2 separate regions of the Homo sapiens genome follow, and region 2 is linked to region 1. The links are contacts of gene promoters, found by promoter capture Hi-C in human tissues and cell types (Jung and others, 2019). All regions are on one chromosome and are shown on one strand. Each heading gives the region's core, a stretch centred on a gene start or on the middle of the fragment in contact. The rest is flanking DNA. Distances are from core to core; before and after follow the strand shown.

Region 1 (2,866 bases), core at 41-2,540:
GCCCGGCGCAGTGAGTCGCGTTGTCCGAAAGTACACAGAGTGGAGCCAGCCGACTGTGCTGTCTTTGCAAACCGTGACCGAGCAAAGTCCGCGGTAAACAAGCCTCGCAGCAGCTGCCTCCGGATGAGCGCCCCCTGCTCATTCCTCCACCCAGCATTTCCCACGCGCCCAGCGCTCCGCTCTGCAGCCCCTGCCGTCCTCTCTCCCAGCCCCATTCTCAGATCGCCCCATCTTTTGGCCCAGCCCAGGTCCCAGCCCCCGCGGCTGGCGCACCACACTCACCATCTCTTGCCTGAGGAGGTGAAGCTTGGTTTCTAGCCTCTCCAGGGCGCTAGAGTGGCTACCTCGTGGGGAGCCAGAGGTTGGGGAGGACGAAGAGGAGGACGACAAGGAGGGAGGGAAGCTGCAGTAGCTGCTGCTGCTACTGCAGCCGCCGCCGCCGCCGCCACCACCACCGCTCCCCCCGCAGGGGTCCCTGTCCCTTTCCCTGGGAACCGGCTCCTCCCCACGGAGAGAGCGCACTAGACTCTCGGGTACTTTGCGCCCCAGCTTCAGCTCGATGTCTCTGAGGTCTGGCAGCGGGCTGTCTTCCATGACTTTTCCGGAACGGCGATAATAGTAATAAAACGCAGCAGATGAAAGGCAGCCACGGCTTCGAAGGCTGCTGCGAAATCAGCAGACCTCTCCGGGGGCCAGGGTCTCTATCCTCCGCCGCTCCGGTGTACCGTCCTTTCCATAACCGCCTATGCGGTATCAGCCCTGAAATCCGCACAGGACGCGGGGGGTCGCAGCTGCAGTTCCCAGTCCGCTGCGACTCCTCCGACACTAAGATGATCAAGATCTCCTCATTCTCTCTCTTTTTGGCCACCTCACTGCAAAGTTGAGTTCACTGATATTGCAGACAGAGGGGGAATAAAGAGGGGGAAGTAGTGAAAGAAAAGAGAGGGAAATTAAATCTGTTTTAGCTTTACCAAGGGAAAATTTTCACATTATAAAACCGTCCGTTCACATCCCTGCGCCGCTCACTGACTGCCCATCTGGTACTACGCGACACAAAATAATGATGCAGCCAGAAACGATGTCCTGGGTCGTTTCATTTTCCAGCCATATGCCTCCAAGCTTTCGGGATATCCTGGGTTGTCAGAAATAATCTCTGGTCAGTGAAAGAGGAGTTCGGTCGTGTGCATGGACCCATAAAAAAGAGCTAGTTAGCTTAGCAGGAGTTTAACGGCTTCCTTGATGCAGCAAAAATGTCCTTCTTCCCATTTAGGCTGTTTGATCCAAGTCATTGTGTTCCTCTGAGCCTCGGAAACTTTAAACTCCGCTGGCAGGTGGACCAAACCAGGACCAACCCTTCTACCGTATATCACAGACAAGAAGAGCAACCGGAATTTTCCCAACCCTGTCGCTAGTAGCAGAGTTTCAAAGCCCTGCTTTAGTTAGGAATACCAGTTGATTTTTCAGTTTTCCTGACTAGCTACAACCTTTAAAACAGGTTTTAAAATGAGAGATAGAGGAATGACTTTATATTTGGTGTCTTCGTTTCCCATCTCTCTACCTTCCTCAAAGGAAAAACAAACAGAAAACCTCTCTTTAGAAGACTTTCCTAATAATTTTATTCTAATAAAAAGAGTGAAACAATTTCATCAAAAGTTCAATGGAAATGTACAATCAAAATTAATTATCCTACCAACTGTTACAGTATGCAAACAAAAGTGAAAAATTAAATAGCCAGAATAACTTACATGACTGCTGAGATAGCAGTGAAATTTTAAGAACAAGCAATTGCTGAGATACTTACTTTTATTTTAATTATGGAAGAAAAAATATTGGGAATAACTATTTAAAATGTTGTCTTCTTTGATAATTTATCTATAAATTAATTTATAGATTTTTTCAACTATACAAATTGTACAATTAATTGTATAGTTGAACAATTGTACAATTTATTAATTTGTACAATTGTACAATTCATTAATCTGAAATACTTCTACCAAGTAAGTTATTATGAGCTACATGGATTACAGATCTGAATCAGCATTGAGTTTGTGTCAAAAATGTTTAAGTAGAGGATACTAATTTCAATCCAGTAAACTACAATTTTTGATTTCCATTGAAATATTTCAAAGTATGTGCCCCTCTATTTCTGTGACATATAAGTATTTGTGTTCCTGGTCACTCCGAGGCTCCATTTCCAGAGACATCATTCAGGTTTTACACTTGTAGGAACATAGGTATATACATCTCAGAGTTTGTTTTTATCATATCTGACTCTAGGAAACCTTATACGTAGAGGAAACATACGCATTCTAAATGAAATATTTCATGTCAGGGAAAAAATGCTGAACTTTCTATCAACATGCCAGAAATTTGCATGCTATTTCTCCCTTTTAAAAAGAAATGAAGAAAATAGTTATAAGTTAGATGACCCATTTCAAAGTTAGAACTACCACTTACAGAATCAAGGGAAAACAAGACCAAATCCCAGCTAACTGATAAAACTACATGCTTGGTCCTAAATTTGGAAAAACACAAGCTCGTTGCATAAGAATTGCACTGTGGCATGTAATTATGAAAGGCTTGTGTTTCAGTCAAGAACAGTTTATTATTACAAAACCCTTACAAAGTTCAGCATAAGGCTGGCTAAGTGCAGTTTATAGATGAAATATCTAGCTAGAAATTGGTCAGTAAAAAACAAATGTCAAATTATCGTGTGTCAATATAGAAAAATGGGACACCTCTTCTGCTATGAATCACAGACTGCAAAATCAGTATTTGAGGCTGAGGATAATTTAATATATACGTATATGTATGTATATATGTATATAGTTTTTTAAAGAAGTCTGCAGGAGAAACTCCTCTGAGA
Region 2 (2,860 bases), core at 86-2,585, 79 kb before region 1:
AATAAATAAATAAGTAAATATTTTTAGTCCTGCTTCCCTGTAGTAATACTTGTCAATGCTCTAACTTTCAATATATTATTCTTAATACTTCTTTCTAGACATCAATTATATAAAACTGGAATCATTCTAATATAGAATTTCGTATCTTGTTTTTTTTCACATAACTTTATACCATGATGATTTTCCCATGTGCCTTACCATAGGTTTTTCAGAAAGAAGAGCCTGGGACTTTAGCTTGTATTATAATCTAGGGGGCAAAGGAAATAAAAGCAAGGAAGGGAAAACGCTAATACAGAGACACGATATTAAGCTGGCTGACAATAAGATTACATGGTCTTGGGGCCCATCCTCTAGGAAATTTCATAACCCCTATATTAGCACATTTCATCTCTGGGAAAAAAAGAAGAACATTTATACAGTGGCTGCACTTTTGCTCGCCAGTTCACCACAGGATATACATTCTCCCACATTTCTGCATTGTGTGTGCTTAGGTACAAAATGGGGCACAGTGGGGTCTGATTGTATCTTAAGCCTTGGCTTCAACAGGAAAGTCCCAAATAGGAGGTGGAAGGGGCAAGTATAGGCACGAAACTGTCAGCTTGCACCTACCTAAGGTTCGTCGGAACACACACATCTGCACCACAGTGGCAGCTGGAACAAGAGGCAGTTGGGGCTGAGAAAACCTGAAGTCCCTCTTGGGTGTAATATAGTAAACATTTTGCACAACTCAGAGCTCCTGGTATTCTCATATTTTCTTGTATCAATTTCTCAATATTTTTTCCTTCCTGGCCCTTTACCAACAATCCAAAACCTTTGTCACTGCCTGGAAGTCTTTGCTTCTAGTTCGGCCTCCAACCACTTCTCCCTTCACATACACACCGGCTCATCTAAAACCTGATGGCTCACAGCTCAGCATGGTTTCTTAGCACCACCTTCCACAAGGTTTCAACATGGTAGCAATTTAATTTTCAGCACTAACATATTGTGCCAATTCATCCATGAACCAGACTCAGGTTCATTTCTTCTCTGATACTGTTAATTATAAAAATTGCCCATCCAAGTCAGGTGTGGTAGCATTAACCTGTAGTTCCCAGCTACTTAGGAGGCTGAGGTGATTGGATCTTTTGAACCCAGGAGTTTGAGTCCAGCCACGCGACATACTGAGTTTCCATCTACAGAAACAATACAATACAAAACAAAACAAAATTCCCATATGGCCACCAGTGTCAGTTGAAGTCAAGTTGTCAGTGTGATAAGGGTAATTGATACAAGAATCCAATCACCTGTTACTTATGCTCTCTGAAACTGCTCAGGCCCGATCCCCAAAATACAATTTGTATCATAGAACCTAAAACCTGTTCATAGTGCAACATACCCTGTACTTTGACCCAGATCTGATAAATCTTAGTTTATGATGGGCAGTTTCAGTTGCATAGTCACTTTGTAAACCACAATTACTCATTTAGACTCTATGAATGTCCAGGTACTTAGGAACTATGAAGCAGAGAGTACATTTTGTCAAGAAGGTTTTGTTCCAAAATCCTAGGGGTCTACACTGTGCATCTTTCATTAGGGTTTGACAGAGACTCCACACAGCACACTTATTCACCATCGACATCCACTTTATTAACCAGTCTATGGTTCAAATGGCAAGACCAACATTCCCTACAGCAGTCTGGACTTGCTATAGATTTCTCTTTTACTCAGACTACCATTCAAAATTAGTAGTCTTTTAAGTCTCCAAATAAATGGGTTTCAGCACAAGTAATATATGTGGCCTCCTAAATTTAAACAGTATATAACTGCTTTGTCTTTTTCTTCTTGGTATGAGATTTAAGGTGCAACCACATTCTTTACTCAATAGACCCTGGGCCACTGGACCCAGAAAAGCTTTACAAATGTGGCAGACTCCTGAGGATTCATGGAGTCTATTTGTAATCCTCTAACATACATATATCTTACTAAAGCATATCATGTATTTGTCATTCCTGCTCACCAACTCAAATAAGTAGGATATCATCAAGTTAATGTGCCAGTTTGATGTTCCATTAAAGATTATCTAAGACTCCACAAGTAATATAGTAGGTAGCAGGAGAGTAATATAACTCTAGTGAGTGACCAAAGTGCTTGGTGCCGTTCAAAAACTGGATATTTCAGTCCCCAAATCCTGGCCTGAACGTCTTCTTTCTAGGATCAGTCTAAATGTTTTACCTAGTTTCTGCAGAAAGAAGAATTTGAGGCAAAGCCGTACGTGCTATTATTTCATTAGGGAGTGCAATTTCAGGGAGTAGGAATAAGAAAAAGGGTGAATGAAACAGCGAAGGAGGGAAAACTAATATAAATATTTTCAATTTAACTGCTGCTAAGCACAACTGAGAGCTCAGTTTCATGGAAACATTCTCTAAGAAGGCTTACAGTCTATATCATAGGATTGTCAATCATGGGGGGAAAAGGAAAGAATTTATTCACCAGCTACTCTTTCCCACAGGTCTGTAGTTTGCGGTGCAGGTTATTAACTTCTCTGCATGTGTGTCAGTGGTGAGCCACATCTCAATGTCAACAGCGAAGGCTTGGGCAGAAGGAAGAAGCTCTGTATTGGCTCTGTCAGCTTAAACTTATGTGACTCAGTCAGCAGCACAGCTAGACCAACCGAAAGGCAAGGTTAATAGGTCAATAGCATCTGCAATGCTCCACGAGGTATTTGATACATCATGCCATTAAAGACTCTTTGAAGCTAACATTTCCCATGGATGTATACTATTTTATTTCATTGATGTGCTCAGATCCACTGAAACATTTCCCAGTTGTCAGCAGTTAAGTTGCTCCTCCTTCATTATTACTATATTGTCACAACAATCAA

The links. Contacts are between HindIII fragments. The study calls those that stand out against the background at their distance.
Region 2: a fragment that was not itself captured here is called in contact with the fragment with the promoter of LURAP1L in region 1 in 4 of the 25 tissues and cell types used here (adrenal gland, dorsolateral prefrontal cortex, heart left ventricle and 1 more).

Annotation. Positions count from the first base shown.
Region 1 is chr9:12,773,444-12,776,309 of GRCh38, reverse strand. It overlaps LURAP1L (leucine rich adaptor protein 1 like), which reads right to left and starts at 1,290. Exons shown (of 2, transcript NM_203403.2): 1 at 283-1,290. The coding sequence starts at 594. The region is part of intron 2 of LURAP1L-AS1 (LURAP1L antisense RNA 1); the gene reads left to right. The HindIII fragment of the contact is 5,707 bases long and covers 714-2,866 here.
Region 2 is chr9:12,852,981-12,855,840 of GRCh38, reverse strand. No RefSeq gene overlaps it. Among named protein-coding and RNA genes, the nearest start is that of LURAP1L-AS1, 40 kb to the right of the region's middle. The HindIII fragment of the contact is 5,054 bases long and covers 1-2,860 here.